Linked DNA regions of Homo sapiens: regions 1, 2, 4, 5, 6 and 7 are each linked to region 3. The links are contacts of gene promoters, found by promoter capture Hi-C in blood cells and fetal thymus (Javierre and others, 2016). All regions are on one chromosome and are shown on one strand. The core of a region is centred on a gene start or on the middle of the fragment in contact, and the rest is flanking DNA. Distances in the headings are between cores, read along the strand shown. Region 1 overlaps EXO1 (exonuclease 1). Region 2 holds the start of COX20 (cytochrome c oxidase assembly factor COX20). Region 3 holds the start of CEP170 (centrosomal protein 170). Region 4 overlaps KMO (kynurenine 3-monooxygenase). Region 5 overlaps LOC124900416. Region 6 has its middle 5.1 kb from the start of OPN3. Region 7 overlaps OPN3 (opsin 3).

Region 1 (3,997 bases), core at 1,201-3,700, 1.4 Mb before region 3:
GTGTCATATTCAATTTCTGAAGCATTTCCTTAATAAAATAATAAATCATAATATGGATTTAAATATTCTGTTATGCGAATAACCTATATTATATTATTAAAAGGAGCAAATGACTGAGGCACTAGAACTTTGCCTTAGCAACTAACATATATTGGGAAAATCATGTTTTCTGCAATTGGCAAAAAAGTAGTGATTTTTAAAACAAAGACTAGTATAAAGAGGCTCAAGGAGAAAATATTCTAGGGTAAAATTAAACTCGGAGTCTTTTGACTTCTGTGCTATAACTCTATAGTAGTGGTTCTCAAACTGTTTGGTCGCAGGATCCCTTTACACTCCTCAAGCTCCTTTATGGTAATATTTTTTGTTTATGTAGGCGATAGCTATTGATATTTACTGAATTAAAAATTAAAACAAAAATTTAAATGTTTATCAATTCACTTAAACTTTATAATAAACTCATTACATGTTAGCATAAATAGCATGCTTTTATGAAAAATAATCATTTTTTAAAACAAAAATTATGAGAGAGAGGAATCATACATTTATGCAAATCTCTTTAATGTGGCCTAATAGAAGACAGCTGTGTTCGTATACAAGTTGAACATCCCTAATCCAAAAATCTGAAATGTTCAAAAATCCAAAACTTTTTGAGTCCCGGCAGGCAAGTGAAAAATTCCACACCTGATCTCATGTGAAGAGTACACAAAATAATTAAAAATACTGTATAAAATTACCTTCAGTCTATGTGTGTAAGGCTTATATGAAACATAAATTGAGTTTTTTTTCTTCTTCACCCTCTTGCTGTCAGTGTGTGGAAACGTAAATGGATTTTATGTTTAGACTTGGGCCCCATCCCTAAGTTATCTCATAACGTGTATATGCAAATATTCCAAAATCTGAAAAAATTCAAAATCTGAAACACTTCTGGTGCCAAGCATTTTGGATAATGTGTACCCAACCTGTATCTGCTGCCTTATTAAGCCTCATTTGATACCATGTATCATATATCATCTGGAAAATTCTGAGACTCTGGACATTGCTACTTTGTAGTTTGTCTTAAAAAATAAACATCAAAGAAGCTCATTTTCCCCCTTGGATATTCTCTAAACCCTTAACAGTTTGCAGAGCAGAAATTTCATTTTTCTATTTCCAGGAGTATAAGGCCTGAGTCCTCAGGACTAAGAGTGATGTCATGTAATGGAAAGATCTCTAGGTTGGAAGATAGTGTCCCAGGTGGGAATAGGACCACGTGCCTTAACTAGCCTGTGACTCCAGGATCCGTTTGGTTCTCTGGGCCTTCCCTTTTTCATCTATGAATTTACTATGCAATGTTTAGGATCCTTTCCAGCTTTAAGCATCCATGACTCTCACAGAAATCAGAATGTCAACTTGGTTTAAAAATATGATCTAGAAATATTTGCATTTTTTTAATTCTCAGATTTTGGATGTTCTTTTTTTTTCCTTTCTTGATAAAAAGGACTTTGAAGATGAATGGATAATGTATCTCAAAGTTACACCTAGAAGCACAAACTTGATGTACTATATAACTGTATTTTTTTATCCTTCAAATTAGTAATAGAAAAACCAAAGAAAATACTAGTTATGAGACTTAGAATTTTAAGTGATGTAACATGGTTGTGTTAGCTGGTAGAATTTTTTAATGTAGATGAAAGCAGTTAATGTTTCAATCCCTCTTTATGAATGTAAATCAATCAGCCTTGAGGATAATATGTTCCCTGTTCTTTAGTTGCAGATAAAATATTTTTGCATGCATTGTTAGGTTATCAAGAAAATTGGACATTATCTCAAGATGAATATCACGGTACCAGAGGATTACATCAACGGGTTTATTCGGGCCAACAATACCTTCCTCTATCAGCTAGTTTTTGATCCCATCAAAAGGAAACTTATTCCTCTGAACGCCTATGAAGATGATGTTGATCCTGAAACACTAAGCTACGCTGGGCAGTATCCTTTCTGAAACAGAATGGTAGAATTTGTGCATTTTTCTTCAATATTTTTATGGTGATTTTTTTGTGAGGCATTTAGTAAAAAGCTTGCACATTATTTTTTGCTCTCTTTTTTATAGTGAAATCTGTATATTGTTCATTTAAATTACCATGCTAGTGAAAATTGAGAACAACTTTTTGTTTATAAACCCGAGGCTCATCCACTATGCATCCTGATTACTTAGATTGACTGACAGTAGCATGCACAGGGTCCGTCACTTACGGTACACATTCCAAAGGTGGCTCTTGAGAGGACCTCCTCGTGGCAAGCAAGCTCGACTTATCAGGAAGAGCATTCTGGGCATTTGAGTGCATCAGGAGAGGATGCCCTTCCCATAGCCACTGGCCATGTACATGCAGGCTGATGCAGAGCCCTGAGTCACTTAGGTGGTGGCTAGGACTTTCCCCTCTGTTTCCCTTAAAGGCAGGGAGTCAGTGATGGCCTGGGCCCTCGTCAGAAGACACCAACTCCTGCAGAGACAGATAGAGACTAGCAAACTGTGTCTGCTTTCAGTAATGCTGATGTATAAAGTAAGGAGACTCCATTTAAGTCATAAACCTATGGATTTTCGTGACAATAGAAAACATTTTTCCATCTTAGTATAATATCATTTGGTTGGTTGTTAATAAATACATTTTTCCTTAATCTTGCTAATCTAGATATGTTGATGATTCCATAGCTCTTCAAATAGCACTTGGAAATAAAGATATAAATACTTTTGAACAGATCGATGACTACAATCCAGACACTGCTATGGTAACGTTTTGATGACCACCCTATGAAAACACGTTTTAGTTATGTCCCGAGCTGTGATTAAAGGCAAATCTTCATACACTAAGCTTCTTTTAAGCGTTTCTATATCCAGGCTCTGTGCAGAATGTACATTAAAAACAACTTGATCCTAGAGAAATTACATGTATTAGAGCATAGGTATATTGGTTAATTTTTTAAAATTAAGAAGTGACTGTTATTTATTATCAAACCCTTATCCTTGAGCATTTCATTTGAATATACCAAGCATTTGATGCCTTTTTTTCTCATCTCACTCCGTTCGGCTTCTGTGGCATTTGGCATCATTGAAGACCCAAGCCTAGGAATGCTACGGGAGTTAAAGCTGTTTTTTCACTCATGCACAATTTAACAAATATTTAATGCACGCCCCTGCTGTTTCTTTAAACAATTTGCTGTTTTCTTTTATTTTTCTTTTTTGAGACAGAGTTTCATTCTTGTTGCCCAGGCTGGAGTGCAATGGTGCGATCTCAGCTCACCACAACCTCCGCCTCCCAGGTTCGAGCAATTCTCCTGCCTCAGCCTCCTGGGTAGCTAGGATTACAGGCATGCACCACCACGCCCGGCTAATTTTGTATTTTTAGTAGAGACAGGATTTCTGCATGTTGGCCAGGCTGGTCTGGAACTCCCAACCTCGGGTGATCTGCCCACCTCGGCCTCCCAAAGCGCTGGGATTACAGGCGTGAGCCACCACTCCTAGCCGCGATTTGCTGTTTTCTTCTGCTTCTTCAGTATTGTATGTATTCCTTAAGATACTGTCTCCCATCATTGTCTTTCTCTTTGTATTTCTGTTTATCCTCTGTTCTCTTTTCTGTTTACATTTCTTCCTTAGGTAAGTCCTTAGGGCTTTAATCCCATTTACGTAAAGAACTCACATCTCCATCTTTACTCCAGTCTCTCGCCTGTGCACCAACCACAGAATTCTCACTGTCTCTTGCGTCTCTGATTTCCTGTAGCCTCCAAGTCTATTTATAGGCAAAACTAAACTCTTCATGTTTTTAATCAACTTTTAATCACATTTCTCTTTTATTTCCTACTTAGCACTTATTACTGTATAACATGCTTCTATTCTTTTCTGATTCTTTCCAATAGAATGTGGTCTTCATAAAGGCAGAACTTGGTGATCCTCACTGCTGTATGATATTTACTATGTTTATATGTTGAGTGAATGAGTGTTAGCCACAGGTCTCTTTTGTTC
Region 2 (4,243 bases), core at 559-3,058, 1.6 Mb after region 3:
CGGCCTTTCAGATCCGGAGTTCAAAGCATAGTTAGCATTATAATTTCAGCAGAGAATCCAGAATTGGCAGGATATCACCAGTAGGGTGACTTTTTTTCTTTTCCCTAGCAAACAGTAGAGCAGTATGTAGTTTCTCCCCCCGCCCAGACGGAGTTTCGCTCTTTCTCCCAGGCTGGAGTACAGTGGCACGATCTCGGCTCCCTGCAACCTCCGCCTTCCGTTTTCAAGCTATTCTCCTTCCTCAGGCTGCCGAGTAGCTGGGATTACAGGCGCCCCCCACCACGCCAGGCTAATTTTTGTATTTTTAGTAGAGGCGAGGTTTCACCAAGTTGACCAGGCTGGTCCCGAACTCCTGACCTCGTGATCCGCCCGCCTCAGCCCCCAAAGTGTTGGGATTACAGGCGTGAGCCTCCGCGCCCGGCACAGTATGTAGTTTCTAACTACAATTTCAAAAACAAAAACAAAAAAACCCCCCCCGCCCCCGCAAAAAAAAACCTCAAAAAAAAAAATGTGACACATAAATACACAACCTTAACTGTGTATTTTACTGGGATTGTAGAAAGGTATCAAATGGGCATGCAAGTAAGGTCCTTACGGAGTAAGAAAACGCCCAATGAACAGTACTTAATATGAATTCGACATCGTTAACACTGAGCGCTTGCTGTGTGCCAGCGCGCAGCATAATTCGAAGCAGCATGACTTTGCACAATGACATATTCTACAAGTCCAGTTTCCTAAGGAGTGCCCTTAGGTTACATATAACCTAAACGTGAAATGTAGAAGTACATAAAGGAGGCATAAAGTTAAAGGGGAAAAATTATAAATACTAGAAAAAATTGCATTGTATTATTTTGATGGCTGAAAAATGGGCTCGACCCTGCATGCACGCGTTCTCCATTGAGCTCGACAATATGCAGTATTTTGTTTCACGTTATGTCGCAGTCTTAGGGAGGAGTGAAACGTGGAACACGACTTCACATCAAAAATGCACGTTGCAGAGGCATTTTTCCTTCGGGGACGCCGGAAGACTTCGCCACACGCGCGCCCTCTCCGCGGACACCAACGTGCTGACGCATGTTCATTAGCGAGCTGCTCCCTCCATTTTGTCCCCAGTCTCCTTTAGGCGAACTGCGCGGTTCTATGTTAAAGCCACTTAGTAATGAAACTATAAAAGGGAGGAAGTGGGGTGGGCGTGGGAGCCCCGTTTGCGCAAGGCAGGCGCGGGGGACTAAATGGCTGCTGGTGCAGAGTGGGGCTGCCCCGGCACCAAGGGCTCGTCCCGTGGCCGGAAGGACAAAGGACACTTAGGGGACGAGGGCCGCCGAGCCAGCGCGGAGCGCCTTCCGGGTCGGTGGGCTGGGGCGGGCTGGGGGCTGGGGCCGGGCCGACCCCCGCGGTGGGGCCCACCCCGCAGGACAAAGCAGCGGCCCCGCCCCTCGGCGCGCGCCCGAGGCTCGTGCGTGTGAGCACGCGCGCCGGAGACGGTTAGAAATGGCGGTTGGGGCGGAGCAGGGGGCTGGCGCGGGAAGCGGGGCTGTCTGGCTCGGTTACGCCCCCACCTCGCCAGGAATCTAGGAGTCGGTTTGTTTTCCGAACCCATCTCCTTCCGCTCTCCCGCCCCTGCAGGCTGTGTGCCGAGCTTGGAAGAAAGTGTGACCCGTTCGACGGAACAAAGGACATGACAGCCCGGCCCCGTGCGGCCACTGCGGAGCGTTAGGAACATTCCCTAAAATGGCGGCCGGCGCGTCGGAACAGGGCGGGAGGCGGCGGCGCGTGGGGGCGGGACGGGGAGGGGCGCGGCCAGCCGGGCTTCTGCTTCCGCGACCCCGGCGGTGCAGGGCGGGTGGAGTCGCGGAGTAGTCCTCATGGCCGCCCCGCCGGAGCCCGGTGAGCCCGAGGAGAGGAAGGTAACCTGGGGGTCGGCGGGGCGCGCGCCGCGGGTGGGCGGTGGGTAAGGACGTTCTCCGCGGAGCTCCTAGGCCCGGAGCACGTGTCACTGGCTTCTCTGCCACCCATGGGCTTGAAACTATTTTAACTGTTCCTAGTCCTTATCCCAAGCCTCCAACATTTTAATCTAAGTGGCCGGGACAAAATTGACCAAAACTAGGGGGAGGAGGGGACCAGTAGTACTAATGACTTACTACAGGTCATTATGAAATAAGCTAACAATACTGAATCTTTGGCGAGAAAATTTTGCTGCTAAGGGCACTGCACTGTAATTTGTTAGTAAAGGCTAATAGTAGAGATTAAAGCTCCGTTGAGGACAGGTGCCTTGTCTTTAACACGTTGTATTCATCACATTTAACATAGGAGTAATTGCTGAGGGATGACTTGATTGTACTACGATGAGATGAAGGGTTAAGATTTCTTCCCCATCACCAGTAGCCTCCCTAGCTGGTGTCCCTGTCTCCATACTCTCCTGAATCCACCTTCCACTATTGTCCGCTGGCCCTTTCCAGCCTGTAAACTGGACAGTTTTCATTCCTCTGCCTAACATCCAGTCGTAGCAGCCCATCCTATCTCTTTAAGGATAAAACCCAAATTCTTGGTATAGTAAAGCTAAACCAAGCGCTCTCCCTGGAAGGGCTCCTGTGTTTCACCAAAGCTGACTTACGTACTTTCCCCATCTTCCCAGGCATCTTGTACGTCGTTACATTTATCATATTGGAAGGTAATAAATGATCTTGTTTTCCTCTTTTCCTGGGCTCCTTATTAAGAGCAGGGAACCTAATTTATATCCTCAGGGCAGAACAGGTATTCAGAAAAGAATAATGCAAGAGGAAAAAAGTTTAATATAAACTAGGGAGATCGTAACATTGGCTAATCACGAGCAAATATTTATAGAAGACCCACTGTGTGCTAAATGGCTCCTAATATATACTTAAGATATTCTCCCAGCTTGGAAATTCTGCTCACTTCTTGCTCTTGCTTGCTTCTCTGGTGGGCTTCCATCCAAATTTGGCCATGACATCAGATCATATGGTTAATATTAACAAATATTGTATAAATTGTTTTCATACTTAATATCCAACAGGTTGTCAGTTTACGTACTACTGGTGCCTTATCTGTTTTTACTGTCCCATACACTGCCCATCTGGAATAAGCTTAGTGTTTAAAAAAAAAAAAAGATCTTTGCATACACACAGTAAATCCTAGATTCAGTTTTGTGATAAACACTGGAATCCTGAATGGGACTTTTGGTAGGAGATAACTGCTGTTTTTAAAGGTCATAAAGGTGGTTTAATCCATTGGAAATTAAAAAAAAAAAACTTAAAAGAGGATCAACATTGACCTATTTAACTGGCCCATCAGTAAGTAGCAAAACAATACTGTAGTTGTTGAAATGAAGATAGTTATAAGCCTCAAACCGAGCACAGTCAGAGGTGGGAGGCCAAAAAAACAAAAATTGCTCATGAAACAGTAGTACCTATCAGAGCCCATCAAAAAGCTAATTAAATTAATAGAAGCTATGATGAATTAACAGCCCAAGGTGCTGTCAGAAAGGAAGCCTGCGGTTATTTTTTTTAAAAGAATTTGTCAGTGATCATTCCAGCACAACCCAGGGAGGATTATTTTATTATAAGAATTAGCAAACCTAAAGTAAAAATGGGAGTTACCAAGCTGGCATACCTTGATAGAACTAGCCCCTAAAAACTGTCCTCTGCCACATTCTTGTCCTTTAAGAAACTTTAAAATGTGAAATTTGGTACATACAGGTAAATTCACATTCAGGTAAATTCTTAATTCACCCATTCAAAAAATATTTAGAGTACCTACTGAGTATTAGACACTGAACGAGGTACTAGACTGATCAAGACAGGAAAAATCCCTTTAAGGAGCTGACATTCTACTGGAGGAATCAATAAGCAAGACTTCTACTGAGCCAGTCATGCAAAGATCCAGGAGAAAGGCAGCATGTGTTCGTTCGGTAATAACCATCTCGGCTTGTTAGAATGGCAAGGCCACTGTACCTGGACTAGTGGACAAGAGTAGGATATGAAAGAGCATGGGATCATGTAGGGCCTTTGGAGCAATGGTAAGGATTCTGAGCATAATCGGAGGCTACAGAGGACTTATTATAGTCATCTGATACACATTTTTATGAGTAGAATCAAGATCTGAAAGGTACTGTTGATAGATGGTAATTTGATAGGACAGGTTGAGCTTCCCAATTCAAAAAAAAAATTGTCTTTTGATGTATCAGTTTCAGATTTGGGATGCTCAACCTGTATTAGCAATGAAG
Region 3 (3,983 bases), core at 1,484-3,983:
AGCACAGAATTTTAAAAAGTACCATAACAGCATTAATATGCAGAATGTATGCTAAGGTTTACAGTATAAATTTCACTATTCTAATGTTAAAATAGGGAACAGGCAGATTATTTCCATACAAAATAATCTCAGAACACAATGAAATTTACCAGTAAAATACATTTAAAGCATGATTGAATATAATCCCACATACTGAAATTTAGTTACAGATTTTTAAAGTTGAAATTTAAGATAAATAATAAATCCTTTAAAGAAGTCTATTAAAATGCAACGTAAAATTAAACGATTAAAATTATAAGGGAAGAAAAAAGCACTTTATGGCAAAATCAACCCAATAAAAAACATAAAGTTAATATATCTTAAAATGTAAATTCTAGTTTAAGTTAAAAGTAATCACTAATAACTCATTAATGATTACAACTCATTAACTGTGGCAAAATAAACATCATAGGTTCTTGTTATGCGGAAATTTTATTTTTAACACAGCCTATAGAGTTGATCATCATACTATTATAAAATACTATTGATTTTCAAGAAATAATATTAAAACCTACCGTTAAGTAGCTACCATTAGGTAGTAGGGAAAACACTGCAACACTTCGTTTTTATGAAAAGCACATGTTAGGACATCTTTCCTCATGTAGTAAGTTACTTTATGAAAGTAAAGGTCCATTTTAGGAGGATTACTACTTTTACATCACAAAGGCAAGAACTAGATTAATCACGGTGAGAATCAAGTTCAGTGATAGTCACAGCCTACTCAGGGAGCACATAGAGAAGCTTTCCATACATTTTCACAAGGTAAAAGGGCTAGGGGGACACAGGAAAGATCACTCTGCAGAATGGACCTTGAGTTTCGTTTGGCTCTGCCTTCGATTAACTGTCTGGCTTGGGCAGACAAGTCAGTTAACTTTCTGAGTTTTAGTGTCTTCCTCTGTCAAGTGCACTTGGGCTCTTCCGTGTTATCTACAAAGTTAGGAAGAGCTAAAGGCAGCCCTAGTTTTACTTTTTAAAAAATAATAACAGAAAAATACATAAGTTGCTATTCATCAGTGTACTGTTTCCAGAGCTGAATTCCTAAGTCTCTGAAGCATACCCAGTTAGGGTTATACCAGTGAAGATCCAGATACTATAGTCATAATGTCACTCTCTCCTCTCCCATTATTCCTCCACCTGCTCCTCCCCATCCTGCTTTATTCTCTCTTCTGGTGTGTTTTAAGAAGCAACGCCAGCAAACGGCTGCATACATTGTAAGCTTAAGGATTAAATCATTTTAAAATATGCATTTTCAATCAAATGTATCATCTGCTTCGCCAAATTCCTCCCAAATGGCTGAATTTTCATTAAGAGAATAAAAATGAGTTAACAACTTCGGTAACAGAAATGTACTGGGCCAGTTGTTTTGTTTGTTTTACTTGCTTAAAAAATAAACGGAAAGATGTATCCATTCCCTCAGGAACATAAATGCATTACCTGCCCAATGAAAAAACAATTCTGCTTGTTCATTTCCCTGACACAACAGCTTCGTTGTCAGGCCCTCTCTAGCCCAGGCTCCAACGTCACCTAGTAATTTTATATTGATCACCTTGGCAGTGCTTGGACTCCAGCAGGCATAGTCCCTGTCTTCCTTACATTCCTCAAAATAAATAAATAAATAAATAAATAAATAAATAAAACTCTACGAAACACCACCGAACAGAGATTCTGTGACTTAGTATACAAATCCCACGTCTTCCCGCCCTGTGTTAGGCAGCTGCAAATGTTATTTTTTCATCGCTTGCATAAAATGGAAGCGAAACGTACCAAAACCCTACATCTGAATCCTAGGACAATGAAGCCGACAGGAAGCCACTCTCTCCTCCCCCGGGTTTACTACAGAGCCAGAGCCTCCACGGGGTGCAGTCGCCAGGCAGGGTGCATGACACCGCGTCTTCCACGCCCTCCCAACGCGTCCAAAAGGTTGCTCGCCTGACCTCGCCAACCGCCTCACACCCCAAAACCAATCACACAAAAGGGATTGGCCCGGGGAGCTGCTCCAATGGGGGAAAAATCCCTTCCCCAGCGGCAGCGCAGCCATTCCCTCCAATGCTCCGCCCGCACCCCTCGCAAACTGCTACGGCGGAGGGGGGAGGGCTGCACAAAGCCAGTCGAAAGCTGAAAATGATTCAATGCACTTAGGGGATGCGGAGGCGGCAGCAAGGGGCTCGGGAAAGCCGGGGGGCCGCAGGACTGGAGCTCCGGGGGGCGGCGGGTGGGGGATGGGAAGGGTGGTCCCGTCAAGCCCCGGGTCCCAGGCGGGCAGAGGGTGGGGGTGGCGGCGCCGCGCGGAGCACCCGGGAAGCGCCCCCTTCGCGGTCCAGCCCCGCACCCCCGCCCCGCGGCGGGCGGCGCCCGAGTCCTCGCCGCAAACCCGAGGAGCAGGATGTGGAAAGCAGCCGCGGCGGTGGCTGCGGCTGCGGCGCCTACACCGAGCAGCCGATCGCATCACTTACCCCTTACCGTGGAGAGAGGGACCGGACGGGGGAGGCGGGGCGCGTCGCGTCCCGTGAGTCTCTCGCACGCCGTCCTCCCCCCACCTCGTCGTCGTCGTCGTCGCCGCTGTTGTCGTCGCTGCCGCTGCGGTCGAGCTCCGGGGCCCTCAGCTCCGCTGGGCAATAACGTTATTCCACACACGCCCCACACATAGCGGTAACGGCAAAGACCGACTGCCTAGTGCGCAGGCGCCTCGGGAAAGGGCGAGGAGCCGGACCCTATCCCCTCCTGCCCAGTTCCAACGATCCCTTACTGCGCAGGCGCCACACACAGACAATGAAAAGGGGTTGTGCGAGGGTCTCACCCACACGCTTTTCCAGCTTGCCCACTGCGCAGGCGTGCCCCGAAAGACCAGCTTGAACAATGAAGAGGACCTCGGCGTTAGGTGGGACCGCAACCAACAAGGACTACAGTTCCCAGCGGGCAGAGCGCCAACTCCAAGTGAAGGTCCGGTTGCTGGGCATGCTAGGAGTTGTAGTGTCGGCCGCCTTTACAATCTAGGCTGTTTGGAAGATTTAGAGCTTCTATTTCTTGAAGATTTATTCGACCGTTTTAAAAAATCTCGCAACTGAAGCAGGGTTCAGAGTTTACTATCTGCGTCCTTGAGTAGCCTGGGGATCAACTGCTGCATATTAGCAAATTTCGAAGCGTCAAGGCCTTCAGTGAGCCCTTTCTGTCATTTGGGTGGTCCAGGCAGCTGAAGAGTGGGATGGAGGCGGGACTAAACCAGGCTGGGCTGGAGGAAAAGGGCGGGGCCTGCAAGCCTGTCTCTTGGCAGCAGGCTCTGGCAGCCAAACCGTCCAAGCTAGCGCCTGGAGCGCAGTGGTTTCTGGGAATTGTAGTGTAACTGGAAGGCCCTGAGGATTGTCGAGCTTGCAGGTTCTGAACGTGAGGACTACAACTCCCGACGTGCAAAGCGAGGGCCAGTGGGTGGGAAGAGCCCCCAAGAGCTCTGTGCGGGATTCTAGGCTCCCCTGTGACAGCCGCGGCAGGAAGCAGGCGGGCGCTCCCCGGCCACAGGCCTGTTGTTCTCGGAAGGGAGAAAGCTGGACATTTCCCCACGTAACTCCCAGCTCTGGGCCTAGAGTGCGTGCATGGCGAAGTCCCCGGAGAACTCTACCCTGGAGGAGATTCTGGGGCAGTATCAACGGAGTCTCCGGGGTGAGTTGCTCCAAACCTCTGTCCCTAGCCCCGAGGTGCCCAGGGCCTAGTGGGCGGGAGCAGACCAGGTGCGTTTCCTAACACCTGGGTTCTGCCCCGTCCACGCTACAGAGGAGCAAGATGGATGTTGCTGTGGTCTTGAGGAGGATGAAATAGTTTGATTTAGTTTTTACAGTTAAGCAACGATGTTTCCTCAGATTCCCGTAGTTACCTCAATCAACTCCTTGATCTTAACTTGGCATCTTTCTCAACCGGCGACAGCAGAAACTCTTGGATAGCTCTATGCCATT
Region 4 (3,922 bases), core at 1,136-3,635, 1.7 Mb before region 3:
GTTTCCTTCCAGTTTGCCCTTCTCCTGGGATGTACCTGTTTAGGGTCCTGATCTAAAACATAAGGGGTTTATCAGAACCTGCCCTCCTGAGCAAGGGGTGCGGGAGTGTCCCAGACTCCAAATTTTGTACTTCTAGTTTCATGAGTCTGTCAAAAATTCTACTGAAGTCCTCAGCCTCTCTTGCATTTGTAGATGCCTGTAGGCATGGCTCCAAATGCCAGGTCATCTCTCTGCGTCTCCTTTTCCTCTCAGTAGAGGTATTAGTTCAAATGACCTATTACACCATCACCCTAAATTACTGCTTGTGGAAAATAAATTGGAAAGAGGCAAAATGAATGCTGGTAGAATACACAGAAAATTTGATATTAGTTAAGCATAATGATTCCAATAACTAGAGGCAGAAAGGTGAAAATGAAAAGAGATGGGTAGATGGAAAAACATTGTAAGGTAGAACTGGCAGAACTGGGAATGGAGTATCAAGGAGAGACGGTGACTCCTAGCTTTCTAGTTTGAGCAACTGGATGGATGGCATATCATTCACTTACATAGGGAATATGTGGAGAGAATTGATGAGATGGGAGGCGATGATCGCAAGTTTCAATTCGGATCTGTTGATTTTGAGGTGCTTTGAGACATACAAGAAGCTGTATCACTTAAACATTTGCATGCATGAGCTCAAAAAACAGATCTGGATAGGAAATATACATTTTCACATCATCATGGATGGAGAAGACAGACTTGGATGGAGATTTGAGAAACTCCAATATTTGTCCGTCTTTGCAATGGTGAAAGAGGAAAAGTGGGACTGGCCAGAGACGTATGAAGAAAACCAGAAAATGAGAGAAGGTTAATGTTTCCAGAAGGTTTAGTTAACGGTATTGACTATTGTTGAAAATTCAAGTGTGATAATTATATACAGATGACTTTACCAAATACAGGTTGCCAGTGATGAGGTAGTAAACTACCACAGCCTATATAAAGCTACTGGTAGGGCAACACTCTAAAGCTTTAAAAAGACAAGAGATCAGAAAAAATTCTTCATGATCTCAGAATAGGCAAAGATCTCTTGAACAAGACATTTGTAATTGCATTAAAAATAAAATGACTATTGTAATTGCATTAATAATAAAATAAAAGATTGGTGAATATGGTTACATTAAAATAAACAGCTTCTCATACTCAAAATAGACTATAGCATTTAAGAAGCAAGACACAGAATGGAAGATATTTTTAATGTTTAAAAATGACAAAGACTCTATATTCAGACTCTATGAACAACTAAACAAAAGAAAAAGAAAGAAAAGAAAAAAGATAGGCAACCCAATAGAAAATGGGCAAAAGATCTAAACAGACACTTGGTGAAAGAGGAGATCCAAACAGCCAATCAATATATGAAAAAGTGCTCACTGCACTCCAGCCTGGGTGACAGAGCGAGACTCTGTCTCAAAAAAAAAAAAAAAAGTGCTCAACTTCTTTAGTAATTAAGCATATGCAAAGTAAAACTACATTCCTCTCCAACTTACCAGCTCCCACCCTCCCACTCCACAATAATGAAAAGTTTGAGAACATCAAGTGCTGGCAAAGATAAATTTTCAGAAGCTGCTGGTGTTACAACCAACTCTTGAAACAGTTTGGCATCAGAAAAGTGACGGTACATAAACTTTTGACCAGATATTCCACTTCCATGTATAGAACCCTTGAAAAAAAGTTATCATATATGTACCAGAATTCCTGCACACACACACAAATGTTATTTGAAGCATTGTTAACATATTCCCAGACCAGAAACAACTCAAGTGTCCTTTGACAGTAGGGCAGATAATCTGTGATCTTTCATTTAATGAAGAATCATATAGAAACAAAAAAAAAGATGACCTTAAGTTTACATGTAACCATATAAATGAATCCCACAATGTTGCCTTAGAGAAGCAAGATGCAAAAACAAACAAAACACACACACACACACACACAGTGTGATTCTAACTATAGGGTTTTAAAAAATGGGTAAATGGCGGGGCACAGTGGCTCATGCCTATAATTCTAGCACTTTGAGAGGCCAAGGTGGGAGAATCACTTGAGCCCAGGAGTTTGAGACCAGACTGGGCAACATAGTGAGACCCCATCTCTACAAAAAAACTTAAAAAATTTTTAATGGGTAAAATTAAAGTATATTGCTTAGAAATATGTATACCTAAAGGCTAAAATGTAAAAAAGCAAGAATGGGTTATCACAGAAGTCAGAATAATGTTTACGTCTATGTGAGAGGAAGAGGACTGTAACTGGGGAGGAGGTGGGGGGAGTTTTGGAGGAATGACGCTATTCTACTTTTTGACCAAAGTAGTGGTTATAAGGGATATAAGGCTATAAAGAATTGCTTTCTAATTATTCTGTAAGATATATATGTTTTATGTTCTTTCTGTTTGAAAATTACCTCACTATAAAAAAGTAAAAAAAAAAAAAACTACTTCTAAAATCATATTACTTAATCTTGAATAAATATTGCTATTTTTGCCACTGATACTTTTCAGCAGAAATTGAGTAAATCAATGTGATAAATGAGGCTGGTAAAATATGACCACACACAATGTGAGGCTAGTAAAACATAGCCTCACATGATGTTTCATTTTGCTGCTAAAAATTCCCTATATTTGTGGAATCAGATAAATATTTAATTTTTTTTTAATTTCTAGGTTGGCTCATTACAAGCATGCTTTCTTGCAAAGAGGAATTTCCAGATTGATGTATATGAAGCTAGGGAAGGTACGTCCATGGTGAAAAAAGCAGGATGAACGCTGGGCACGGTGGCTCCTGGCACTTTGGGAGGCCAGGGCACATGGATCGCTTGAGGCCGGGAGTTTGAGACCAGCCTGGGCAACATGGCAAAACCCCATCTCTACAAAAAATACAAAAATTAGCCTGGTGTGGTGGTGTGTGGTAGGAGGATTGCTTGGACCCAGGAGGCGGAGGTTGCAGTGAGGCGAGATCATGCCACTGTGCTCCAGCCTGGGTGAAAGGGCAAGACCCAAAGAAAGAGAGAGAAAGAGAGAGAGAGAGAAAGAAAAGGAAGAAAGAAAGAAAGAAAGAAAGAAAGAAAGAAAGAAAGAAAGAAAGAAAGAAAGAAAGAAAGAAAGGAAGGAAGAAAGAAAGAAAGGAGAAAGAGCAAGAAAGAAAGAGAGAAAGAGCAAGAAAGAAAGATGAAAAGAAAGAAAGAAAGATAGAAGGAAAGAAAGATAGAAAGAAAGAAAAAGAATTGCAGGATGTGGTTCTAATTCTTTGACTTTTCTTTAGATTTTCTGAACTTAAAAAGTTTCTTTAATAAAACGCTTTTCTTAAAAAAACTAGTTTTGTTTAAAAAAAAACACCAACTATCTAAATTTAATTTAATATAAAGTTACTGCTATTAGCATTTTCTTTAGAAGAGTTAAGAAGTTCTTTAATGTGGTTCCGAATGAACCAGTTGTTCAGATGCAGTAATTTTGCTCATCCTGAGCTAGGATATAAAGTGTGCGTAACATGGAGTCTGCTTCCAATGTCTCAGATACTCGAGTGGCTACCTTCACACGTGGAAGAAGCATTAACTTAGCCCTTTCTCATAGAGGACGACAAGCCTTGAAAGCTGTTGGCCTGGAAGATCAGGTACTTAATGTATCTTTCTTACAGAAGATAATACCTGGTATTTTTCAACAATTGCATGGTTTGATTTCATCCTGGCTTAAAAAGTACCATTTAATACCAAGAATCTCTGCATGAAAACTCATTCTACTAAAGCTTTTAAAATTCGAAATTTGGCAAGAGGGTGAACATTGGACACTCGAGGCACCCGAGGAGGACCCTGCAACCGGATGATTGCTTCTGATATTGGGTTCTCAACAGGATGGTGCGTCACTGCCTGTAGAAAGTGAGAGTCAAGATGGCATCCAGG
Region 5 (3,129 bases), core at 56-2,555, 1.7 Mb after region 3:
CATATATGTAGAGTATACATATACGTAGATGTATATATACTCTACATATATGTATACGTATACATATACGTATATGTATACGTATATGTATATATACATCTATCTATCTATCTATCTATATATATATATATATTTTTTAAGATGGAGTCTTGCTCTGTCACCCAGGCTGGAGTGCAATGCCATGATCTTGGCTCACTGCAACCTCTGCCTCCTGGGTTCAAGTGATTCTTCTGCCTCAGCCTCCTGAGTAGCTAGGACTACAGGCTTGCAGCACTATGCCCACCTAATGTTTGTACTTTTAGTAGAGACGGGGTTACACCATATTGGCCAGGTTGGTCTCGAACTCCTGGCCTCGTGATCTGCCCACCTCGGCCTCCCAAAGTGCTGGGTATACAGGCATGAGCCACCGTGCCCGGCCGCAAAATATATTCTGAGGAATAAAAATGATTGTAGTTAGTTTTCCACAGTCCAAAGCAAGCTAATAATATTTAAAGAGTTAAAAGTGTAATATAATCATCGGTCATGTTTCTACAACCAAAGAGAGTTGAAAGGAGTCAAATATCAGCATAATGCAGATAATGTACTCACTGGCATTGTGGGCCTTTATTATTTGGATAATCATTTTCACCTTGTGGAGACTTTTCCAGAATTATATACTTTTATGCCTAATCAGCAAATTAGGCAGTTGAAAAGTATGTATGAAGCAGCTAATATGTGCCCCAATTAGGCTAGGTAGTGTGGGTATATAAAAAGGGTTTATAAAGGGGGAGGCTCCTATTCAAACCTTAGTGGGGTCAGGAGATGCGGAAGTTAATTAACATATATTAAATATTTTTTTACTCACCCACACCTAGAGAAACAGTACTGTTTTAAATGTGCTGTAGGAGTTCAGAGAAATACTGATTAATGTGGTTTGGAATAAATTAAATAATAAAAAGCTTTGCTGAATACAGTTAGTTTAAAAAATATAAAAATATAGGGGGATTTGCAGAGAAATCTGTTCAACTCTTAAAATAATTTTTAATTTATATATGTTTATATAAGAATTCCATTTTATTAACATGAAATACTAGTACCTTTTTTTGGGGATGGAGTCTTGCTCTGTCATCTGGGCTGGAGTGCAGTGGCGGATCTCGGCTCACTGCAACCTCTGCCTCCTGGGTTCAAGCGATTCTTCTGTCTCAGCCTCCCGAGTAGCTGGGATTACAGGCGTGAGCCACCACATTCGGCTAATTTTTCTATTTTTAGTAGAGATGGGGTTTTACCATGTTGGCCAGGTGGGTCTTTAACTCATGACCTGAAGTGATCCACCCGCTTCAGCCTCCCAAAGTGCTGAGATTATGCGTGAGCCACCGCGCCTGGCCCAGTACTTTTACTGATGAAAAATGTAATGTAAAAGGAAGGTCTGTCTTACATACAATAAGTGCTGAATCTGGGTCTTTTTTAAAAAAAGTCATTGAGAAGACTTACTCCTTTCTTAAGTTTTAAGACATTTATTATTGCAAACAGAAAAATTGTACTAGATACCGGGGATATATAAACGAATAATGCCGTTTCTGTCTTCAAGATCTTACTGTTTGGTAGGTGGAAATAAAGTGAACGAACGAAGGCACTGCAAATCAATGTGGGAGGCTCTATAAGCATGGGGCCACAGAGGAAAAGGCTGAGAGGGAAAGCTTCAATGACTAGGTGACTTCAAAAAGGTCATCCTGGCCAGGCACAGTGGCTCACACCTGTAATCCCAGAACTTTGGGAGGGCCAGGCAGGCGGCAGATCGCTTGAGCTCAGGAGTTTGAGAGCAGCCTGGGCAACATGGGGAAACTCTGTCTCTACAAAAAATACAAAAACTAGCCAGACATGGTGGCGCGCGCCGCTCCTCCCAGCTACTTGGGAGGTTGCGGTGGGAGGGTCACTTGAGACCGGGAGGCGGAAGTTGCAGTGAGCAGAGATCACACCACTGCACTCCATCCTGGACGACAGAGCGAGACCCTGTCTCGAAAAACAAAAGACAAAAACAAAAACAAAGGTCATCCTGCAGGACAACCAGGAGGGCACAAATGTGTGTCTGTGGGAAGCTGAAATGTTGGCGGGGGAAAAAAGCAGGGAAAGGCATTCCAGAAAAAGGAAACTGTAAACAGCACACGAAAAAGCATAGTGAATGAATAGGAAGCCTGAGACCAAACTTAGGGTTTCCTACACTTATTTCAAAGCCCTTCATTATCTATATGGAAAGGGGGAGTCTTTAAACACAAATATTTAGATCATATTGACTGAGATTTAGATATAAATGAATGCTAATAATTACTTTTCGTTATTTTGGGGTGTTAAACATTTACTGTACAAGATTGTATTCGTTTTAAGTATCTTCTAACATGAGCCATTTTGTAATGATTCAGTTGTTTATATTCAATTTCAAGTAGAATGCTGATCACAGCGCCAAATGGGTATCTTCTACAGAAAAAGTTATTTTAATAAAGAAAAATATAGTCAGTTTTAGGATTTCCTGAGAGATTATAGAAACAATAAAAGCATTAAAACTGTTAAGTCATTAAATACGAGTACCTTGTATTTTGAAGGCTCTTAAAATTTAGTTTATAAATTGCTTTTACATAACATATGCACTGAAATACCACTTAAGATTAGTTTTGAAAATAGGTGTTCGTTTCAACCACATCATTAGGTATTTTATTCAAAGCTCTTTATAAAAAGAGCTTTACTATGTTCCAGTATAGTAAACTTATCCAGAAAATAAGACAAAAATTTAACTTCATGCTATAGCTGCAAAGTTTTCGGAAAGCGGGATTTAAAACTTCCATTGTAACTTTAACTAGCGGTCATGTCAAATTTCACAACTAAGAACATTTTAACGCATGTAATACTGAGCACAACATGGGCACGTTTTTGTTGCTATGAGAACCTTCTATTTTGTATTAGACATTGCAGCCTTGACGACGCAATGTTTGTGCTATTTTGCGCATGTTTTCCTGCAGCTATTCCTCTCCTCTAGCAATAGTCGAATGGCTCTGGTTTCCTCTTGCGCCCGGCCCAGTTTTTCCGTTTTAGCTTCGGTTGTCATAGGCTGTGCTGTCGCTTTCTCTGGGAAAGGACGGTGAAGACTGGACGGGAGAA
Region 6 (3,898 bases), core at 84-2,583, 1.6 Mb before region 3:
AATAGAATAGAGAGCCAAGATATAAACTCTTACATATATGGTCCATTGATTTTTGACAAGGATGCCAAGGCCATTCAATGGGGAAAGGAGGAAAGGACAGTCTTTTCAACAAATGATGCTGGGAAAACTGCATATCCATGTGCAAATGAATGAAGTTGGAGCCTTACATTATATCATATATAAAAATTAACTCAAAATTGATTGGAGACCTATATGTAAAAGCTAAAACTATAAAACTTTTAGAAGAAAACTTCTTGGGTATGACACCAAAAGCACAGGCAACAGGAGAAAAATAGCTAAATTGGACTTTATCAAAATTAAAAACTGTTATGCATCAAAGGGCACTATCAAAAGAGTGAAAAGACAGCACAGCAAATGGGAGAAATACTTGCAAGTCATATATCTGATAAGGCATCAATATTATAAAGACCCCCTACAACTCAACAACAAAAAACTCCACACAACCCAATTCAGAAATAGGCAAAGGATCTGAGTAGACATTACTCCAAAAATATACTAATGGCCTAAAAGCACATGGAAGGAAACTTACTGTGATTAGTCATTAGGGAAATGCAAATCAAAGCCACAATGACATACCACTTCACACCTACTAGAAGGGCTATCATCAAAAAACAAAACAAAACACAAAAACAAGTGTTGGTTTTTGTGTGGAGATGTGTAGAAATTAGAACCCTGTCGTACTGCTGATGGGAATGTGAAATGGTGTGGCTCCTGTGGAAGACAATTTGGTAGTTCCACAAAAAGTTAAACATAGAATTATTGTGAGCTCATTCCTGTAATCCCAGTGCTTTGGGAAGCTTAAGCAGGATGATCACTTGAGGCCAAGAGTACAATGACCAGCCTGGGCAACATAGTAAGACCCCATCTCTTCAGAAAAAAATAAAAAATTAGCTGGGTGTGGTGGCACATACCTGTAGTCTCACCCAACTATTCAGGAGGCTGAGGCAGAAGGATCCCTTGAGCCCAGGAGTTTGAGGTTGCAGTGAGCTGTGATCGTGTCACTGCGCTCCACCCTGGGCAAGAGAGTGAGACCCTGTCTCAAAACAAAAAAAATTGCCATATGATCTAGCAATCCTATTCCTAGGTATATACACAAAAGAATTGAAAGCAGGGACTCAAACAGGTATTTGTATACTTATGTTCATAATAGGATTATTCAAAATAGCCAAAAAATAGAAACAACTCAAATGCCCATCAACAGATGAATGATACATGGAATGTGATATATACATACAATGGAATATTATACAGCCATATTTTAAAAGAAATGAAATTCTAGTACATGCTACAACATGGATGAACCTTGAAAACATTACGATAAGGGAAATAAGCCAAACACAAAAGGACAAATATTATATGATCCCAATGATATGAGGTACCTATAACAGGCAAATTCACAGAGACAGAAAGTAGAATGGTGGTTACCAGAAGCTGAGAAGAGGGAAGAATAAGAAGTTAGTGTTTAATGGGTAGAGAGTTTCTGTTTAAGATGACGAAAAAATTCTGGAGACGAATAGTAGTAATGGTTGCACAAGATTGTAAATGTACACAATGCCACTGAATGGTATACTTAAAAATGGTTAGAAAGGAAAATTTTATGTTATGTATATTTTACCACTTTTTTTTTTAAAAAAAGAAAAAAGCATGTGCAAATTGTGCCTGCATTTCACTCTCTCAGAGTGGGAGAAATAAACTACTATAACCAGTTGAGGAAGCAAGCTGAACTCAGTATGCTGCAACCAAAAAGCAGCTTGTTCTCCCTACTCATTTCAAATGTTTTCTGACCATTTGCTCCTTCCTGCCCTTAGATGGAATTTTGGCAGCTTCCAAAGCTTTTCTGCTCCCTTGCAGTTGACATCAAGGCCAGCACATTGTAATGCTGAAAAGCTAAAACTCACGGAAAACTCGCTTGTCCACACCCTCCAAGATACAGCCAGCCTCAGGCCTGGAGAACTTCTGTGAGGGTGGAGGTGAGAAGGAAAACAACTTTAGCTTCCCCCATTTTCTTGATCCGCTCGCTACCTGTAGATGCTGCTCTGGGCCCCTTTGAGATTGTGAGGGAAAAAAAATCTTCCTTGATTGGTTAAGTTGTAGTCTGATATTGGTGCTCTCTGCCAGGCACGGTGGCTCACGCCTGTAATCCCAGCACTTTGGGAGGCCGAGATGGGCAGATCACTTGAGGTCAGGAGTTCGAGACCAGCCTGGCCAACATGGTGAAATCCTATCTCTACTAAAAATATGAAAATTAGCCAGGTGAGGTGGCATGCACCTGTAATCCCAGCTACTCAGGAGGCTGAGTCAGAAGAATCACTTGAACCCAGGAGACAGCAATCCAGCCTGGGCAACAGATTGCAACTTTGTCTTTTAAAAATAATTGATATTAGTGCTCTCTGGTTGTAGCAAGTTTTAAATGTTGGGTTTTTCTCTTCTAGGATGATTTTCAGGTTCTCTAGAGAAATTGAGATCTCTGGCATCTTTCTCACACAACTCTCTCGACAGAGGCAATGCCTTTAGTAGCTGTCTGCTGGGATCTCACTCTCTGACCCTGCTTGGGGACCCTCCCAAGCTGACCCAGTCTGGCCCCTCTACTGAGAGTCTAGCGTCTGTTCCTCTGTACATATGTATGCATCTTTTGCCCTGCCAAATTCTGGAAGTGGTCTGCTGCAGAGAGCTGGCCAGCCCCAGACTCTCCCTGTCAGTGCCCCTGGGATGGAAAGAAATGGGGAGATGTCATGGCTCCTCCATGCTGAACACTCTCTCTGTGGAAGTGCTCATTAAGGATATCCTTGAGCTCCTAATGAACTCGTTGCCTTCTCTTAAATAGTTTGAAGGTGAGCAGGAGCTAATGCTTGCGGAACTGGTTCCCAGTGACTGCACACATCCTCCCGCGTGGGCCGTCTAGCCTGTCCTTTAGACAGAAAGAGGTTCATTTAAAACCCTCTAAACACCCTCTTACATTGGAACATTAAATTATCACAATACCTATATTCCAAGGAAGTCCTTTGCAAAGTATAGGGGAGCGAGGAATGGAGACACGTTTCATTTGACATTCTTGTTTGGAAACTGATAACCCCTAGCCTTCTGCATCATAAGGGGACAACAGAGAGGGAACTTCCATCAAGCATTCCTTTTCCCAGGGTTGAGACACATTCTTCCCTGGCCCCTCTAACCTTGGTCTCTGGTGAGCAGCAGAAGAGCCCTTACTGAAAATCTTGTGAAACATGTATGCACTTTTCCTACCTTAGGAAATGCAATTTAGTGGATGTGCTTGAACTTTTTTTTAAAAAAAGGAGAATCTAGCATGCCTTAAGTTTCTGAATGTCAATGCTCCTGGTGCATACAGCTCCTCAGATGGGTGAGATGTAGGGATCAGCTTAATACATAAACTGTGTATCTGTCCACATCCACTCAACCCCCAAATACATACATTTGTTTTTAAAATAAAATCTCACTTGTTACATTGCTGTTAAAAAATGGAGTTTATGGCTGGGCACAGTGACTCATACCTGTAATCCCAGCACTTTGGGAGGCTGAGGCGGACGGATCACGAGGTCAGGAGATCGAGACCATCCTGGCTAACATGGTGAAACCCCGTCTCTACAGAAAAAATTAGCCGGGCGTGGTAGCAGGCACCTGTAGTCCCAGCTACTCAGGAGGCTGAGGCGGGAGAATGGCGTGAACCCAGGAGGTGGAGCTTGCAGTGAGCCGAGATCGCGCCACTGCACTCCAGCCTGGGTGACAGAGCAGGACTCCGTCTTAAAAAAAAAAAATGCAGTTTACATGACAGAGGAGGTAGGGAAGAGTAAACAATTTCCAGAAGAAACTGGTTAGTGAAGTTATGATTAATTTACATATATATATATATCTCCACACCAAC
Region 7 (4,227 bases), core at 803-3,302, 1.6 Mb before region 3:
TTACCTAAAGGATCACTTTTTCAACTCAAAATATGATTTGACAGTCCTTACATGATAATTTTTGGCTATTAAAAAATCTATAAAATATTCATTTTTATGAGTGTTATAAAGTCAAATGACAATCCTGTTGGATTTATCATCTCTTATTCTCTAATCAAAATAATACATTATAATAACTTTATTTCATATGATATTTTATAATTTTCAAAGTACTTTTTAATGTATTTTTCTAATTAGATCTTTCCAGACATGTCAGGCAGGAAAGTCTCATCGTCCCCATTTGATGAGAGTGTGAGAAAAGGGGCTGATATCCGTGACTAGCCTAAGGTCACAAGACTAGGAAGGTTCTATTTGAATGAGAACCCAGACCTTCTGACTGCTAGTGTGGAGCTCTATTTGGATTTTCCCCAAAAAGATTACACAAAGCAAGTTGTTTCTCAGCAATGGCGAAGCTTGAGGTCTTTTTAATTCTATGAAAACATTCAACACATGAATAAATTGTGGAATAGCTCTGTGACCTGCAATGATGAGTCTAGTTTCTAAGTGTTCCTTCCTAGATTATTAACCTGACAGCAAATGAAAAAAATCCGATATCCCAGAAGAGCAAATGAAAAATATGAGGGAATCTCAGAGGCACTGAATTAAATCTTCATTCCATCATTTATAATTTACAAAGCTCTCAAGGGAGCTCAGGGTTTAGGTTTTAGAGCGGGTGATAACAACACTGATTCCATTTAAGTCATTTTCTATTACCCTGCTGCTGATGCAAATGGAGAGCACGGAAACACAGAGGGCGAGTGCGACTCTTCTCTCAAGAATGAATATCACACGCTCCACTGTAATTGTGTGTGAGTAATTAATCAACCAGAAAATGTGATGTGATACCTCAGGACCATATGAGAAGAATGAGAGAAGAAGCTTGTCATATATAACGTGCTAAGGAAAAACATAATTGCTATATAGCCTGTGCAGTTCTATGTTTGGGCAAAATGCTTTAAGTTGTAAACAAACTTGTGAGGTGGAGGCGTTGGAGTATAAAGCAAAACCCATATTGGTGACCAGTGTGGAACAATCTGGACAGGCAAGAAAAATCTCATTTCCTTGGAAGTCTTAGTCATCCTGATCTGAGAATGTCAAGTAATGAAGAACTAAAAAAAATAAATAAATAAAAATAAAAAAAAGAAGGTGGGAGAAGGAAACTTTAGAAATATGAGATATTTTCCCCAAGACCACAAAGTAGGTGTTAGAACAAGGCTAGTTCCCAGACCCATTCACATTCTACTATTTCAAGCTTCTCTTCCACACTGTCAAATTGGGGTTAACATGAATTTAACTCATCTCTTTGATGTTCAATTTAACACCTTCTGGATCAGAGCAGCATGTCTCTTTCCTTTAATAAGAATGCTGTTTCCAAATGCCAGCTTTTGAAATAGCTACATACGAAACTCCTGAGGAGATGGTTTAAAATGCTGATTCCTAGGCTCTGCCCTTGAAAATACTTGATCCAGTAGGCTTAGGACAGAACGTGAATATCTGTAAGTTTCAAAGTTACCACTGATGATCCTGACTTTCAGAACGATGGGTCAAGATTAAAATCAGATTTCCTTTAATATAATCTCTATCACTATTTGCTCAATTCCCAGGTTTTCCTCAATTCCCATCACTGGTGCAGGAGCACAAGAAACCACTCCAGATGCCTCTGAAGCCTTCAGTCTCAATCCCACACCAAGAGGTGCAGCGCAGAGGGGTGGCCCTCTCTCCTGTCTCTGATGGATTCCGCAGCCAGCCCATTTCTGGTCCGTGCTGACCTCCATCGTTTTCAGCAGAGCAACACCGCCATCGTTCTGTGTCTCTTTGTGCAGGCAGCAGCACAGAATTGGGAATATATTTAAGGACCTTAATGTTCTATGGAATGGTTCTGTTCAATGAGAAGACTTTCATGTATATGCCAGGTTTAAGGCTTTCTTCTTTTCTCATTGTATCTTTTTTTTTTTTTTGGCACACCCACTTTTGTATTTATTTATTTTTGCTTATTTCATCTTATCTAAGAATTCTTCTACATCTTTAAGAAATAGAGAATAAAGAGATATGCCTCAAGCCTCCAGTGGGCAGGCTAGTTTATATATATATATATATATTTCAGATATAATTAAGGATCACTCCAGGCAAGGAGACAGTACATACTTACAATTCAGTGCTATGGTGCCTTTTATGTGTGAAACCCTTCATTCTTCACGGATCTTTCTACATCAACACTCCTTCATCCTTTGGAACTTGAGAACTTTCAGGAAAACCTTCTGGTTGTTTCATACTGGGCTCTAAAACTTGCTTGCCTTTGTCCCCATCTGCTGCTCAGTGGCTGCATATTAGGAATTTGGAAATTGCCCCAACATAAGAACTGAACCATTCATTTGCGTTAACATTTCACAAAACAGTACTGCACGGGACACTAAAGGTAATACTATGCACAAGGCTCCCTAGTTGAGAGAGTCAGTACCGATGTCCGGGTGCCAGGCTGAGCCAGCCCTGAGGAAAGGGCATCTTTTCTAGCTTATACAGGCAGTTCTGATTTCTGTACTTTACTCATTTCTAGCTTTTATCCCTCTTTACCTATCTCCTTGTCTTTTGCAATTCTGCTGCTTCTTATAGTCCAATAAACTATAATAATGCCATATTTTATAGAACCTGACACAGCATATCATAAAATGGCTGAAAGTGATGTCATATGAAAAGCTCTTGAAAATCTAACTAAATGCCCTTGAGGTTCACCCTGGCCTCACCAGTTCCCTAGACTCCAGACCCATCACGAAGTGAGAAGCTTGTTGGGGAGACATGGGCAGTTTCATCATGAAACAGACTGATGTTACTTCTTAGGGAATTCTCTCACATTATGGAAAGCAGAAGCCTGGCTGTACAAGAAACTTGTGGCATATTCTAAGTAAATCAGATAAAAGTGTTCCAGGACAAATCACAGCCTAACAGCAGACAGTCACCAGGCCGGTGTGTCTAAATCTTCTTTAAATGTTTGAGTTGCTCTAACGTATAGGGCCCTGAGTTTAGTTCTGGAGAAGCAAAGTCATAAAATATGGTCCTTGATGTAAAGGGGAAAACGCAATATGAAAGAACAAAGTAAAATACAAAATTGCGTATTTGAAATGCCAAATGAGACATACAGATGTTAAGTGCCAGAGGAGCCCAGACAGAGGAAAGTTCACCAAGTACTGGGGAATACAGGGTGGGGCAGGGTTGGGGGTGGGGGTGTTAAATAAAGGGGAGGGACTGAGGGAAGTTGAAAATAATCAATCTGAAAATTTGCCCAGCATGTACATGCCTAGCAATTTCAGGTTTAATTATAAACCCTAGAGCAGCATTGTTCAGTAGAAATATAATGTGAGCCACAAACATTTAAATTTTTAAAAGGTAAAAAGAAACAGATGCAATTAACTTTAATAACATATTTTATTTTACCCAACTGGTATGGACTGGATGTTTGTGGCCCCCCAAATGCATGTGCTGAAACCCTAACCCTCAGAGTGATGGTATGAGGTGACATCTTTGGAAGGTGATTAGGCCATGAAGGCAGAGCCCTGGTGAATGGAATTAGTGCTGTTGTAAGAGGCCACAGAGCTAACTCTGGTTCTCTTTCTGCCATGTGAGGATAACACAAGTAAGCACACTAACCTGGAAGAGGGCCCTCACCAGAACCCAACCTGCTGGTACCCTGATCTCAGACTTCCAACCTCTGGAACTGTGAAATATAAATTTCTGTGTTTACAAGCCACCCACTTTAGGGTATTTTGTTATAGCAGCTTGAACTAACACATTAATATATGCAAAATATTATTTCAATTTTTAATCAATATAAAATTATTGAGATATTTTATATTTTTCTCATACGAAGTCTTGGAAATATAATTAATATTTTACACTTACATCTCAGTATAAACTAGCTACATTTCAAGAGCTCAAGAGACACATGTGACTAGTAGTTATCATATTAGACAGCATGACCCTAGAGAAACTCTGTGCATATTGGGCAGGAAGAAATGTTATAAAGATATACTCTGAAGCATTGTTTATTATATTATAGTGAAAAACAGGAAATGGACCTCCATCAAAAGGGAAAAATGTGTAAATAAACTGTGAACAAAAGGATGGAAGCACTGCTTGGATTCACCTTAAATCCCTGTTGGTGACCTCTGGGGAAAGGAGGTAAAATGGAATGGA

What was found. Contacts are between HindIII fragments. The CHiCAGO score rates a contact against its expected background, and 5 or more counts as called.
Region 1: a fragment that was not itself captured here is called in contact with the fragment with the promoter of CEP170 in region 3 in 1 of 17 cell types (total CD4 T cells); the score reaches 5.1 in total CD4 T cells.
Region 2: a contact is called between the fragment with the promoter of COX20 here and the fragment with the promoter of CEP170 in region 3, in 1 of 17 cell types (neutrophils). The highest score is 5.7, in neutrophils.
Region 4: a contact is called between a fragment that was not itself captured here and the fragment with the promoter of CEP170 in region 3, in 1 of 17 cell types (M1 macrophages). The highest score is 6.5, in M1 macrophages.
Region 5: a contact is called between a fragment that was not itself captured here and the fragment with the promoter of CEP170 in region 3, in 1 of 17 cell types (non-activated CD4 T cells). The highest score is 5.8, in non-activated CD4 T cells.
Region 6: a fragment that was not itself captured here is called in contact with the fragment with the promoter of CEP170 in region 3 in 1 of 17 cell types (naive CD8 T cells); the score reaches 5.5 in naive CD8 T cells.
Region 7: a fragment that was not itself captured here is called in contact with the fragment with the promoter of CEP170 in region 3 in 1 of 17 cell types (M2 macrophages); the score reaches 10.3 in M2 macrophages.

Annotation. Positions count from the first base shown.
Region 1 is chr1:241,858,737-241,862,733 of GRCh38, forward strand. It overlaps EXO1 (exonuclease 1), which reads left to right. Exons shown (of 16, transcript NM_130398.4): 9 at 1,781-1,968; 10 at 2,670-2,766. Among named protein-coding and RNA genes, the nearest start is that of EXO1, 13 kb to the left of the region's middle. The HindIII fragment of the contact is 793 bases long and covers 2,055-2,847 here.
Region 2 is chr1:244,833,850-244,838,092 of GRCh38, forward strand. It overlaps COX20 (cytochrome c oxidase assembly factor COX20), which reads left to right and starts at 1,809. Exons shown (of 4, transcript NM_198076.6): 1 at 1,809-1,907. The coding sequence starts at 1,866. RefSeq lists enhancers at 1-479, 983-1,042, 1,583-1,702 and silencers at 1,203-1,542, 1,783-1,832, 1,873-2,162. The HindIII fragment of the contact is 7,018 bases long and covers 1-3,102 here.
Region 3 is chr1:243,252,548-243,256,530 of GRCh38, forward strand. It overlaps CEP170 (centrosomal protein 170), which reads right to left and starts at 2,734. Exons shown (of 20, transcript NM_014812.3): 1 at 2,493-2,734. It overlaps SDCCAG8 (SHH signaling and ciliogenesis regulator SDCCAG8), which reads left to right and starts at 3,494. Exons shown (of 18, transcript NM_006642.5): 1 at 3,494-3,693. The coding sequence starts at 3,627. The HindIII fragment of the contact is 10,208 bases long and covers 1,254-3,983 here.
Region 4 is chr1:241,546,139-241,550,060 of GRCh38, forward strand. KMO (kynurenine 3-monooxygenase) reads left to right here. Exons shown (of 15, transcript NM_003679.5): 2 at 2,691-2,760; 3 at 3,539-3,636. Among named protein-coding and RNA genes, the nearest start is that of KMO, 16 kb to the left of the region's middle. The HindIII fragment of the contact is 2,762 bases long and covers 1,005-3,766 here.
Region 5 is chr1:244,966,690-244,969,818 of GRCh38, forward strand. LOC124900416 reads right to left here. Exons shown (of 4, transcript XM_054328428.1): 3 at 284-3,129. It overlaps EFCAB2-AS1 (EFCAB2 antisense RNA 1), which reads right to left. Exons shown (of 2, transcript NR_111907.1): 2 at 1-3,129. DRC8 (dynein regulatory complex subunit 8) reads left to right here and starts at 2,993. Exons shown (of 8, transcript NM_032328.4): 1 at 2,993-3,129. RefSeq lists an enhancer at 1,343-1,847 and a silencer at 3,056-3,129. The HindIII fragment of the contact is 738 bases long and covers 937-1,674 here.
Region 6 is chr1:241,643,530-241,647,427 of GRCh38, forward strand. No RefSeq gene overlaps it. Among named protein-coding and RNA genes, the nearest start is that of OPN3, 5.1 kb to the left of the region's middle. The HindIII fragment of the contact is 1,035 bases long and covers 817-1,851 here.
Region 7 is chr1:241,616,854-241,621,080 of GRCh38, forward strand. The region is part of intron 1 of OPN3 (opsin 3); the gene reads right to left. Among named protein-coding and RNA genes, the nearest start is that of CHML, 21 kb to the right of the region's middle. The HindIII fragment of the contact is 1,527 bases long and covers 1,290-2,816 here.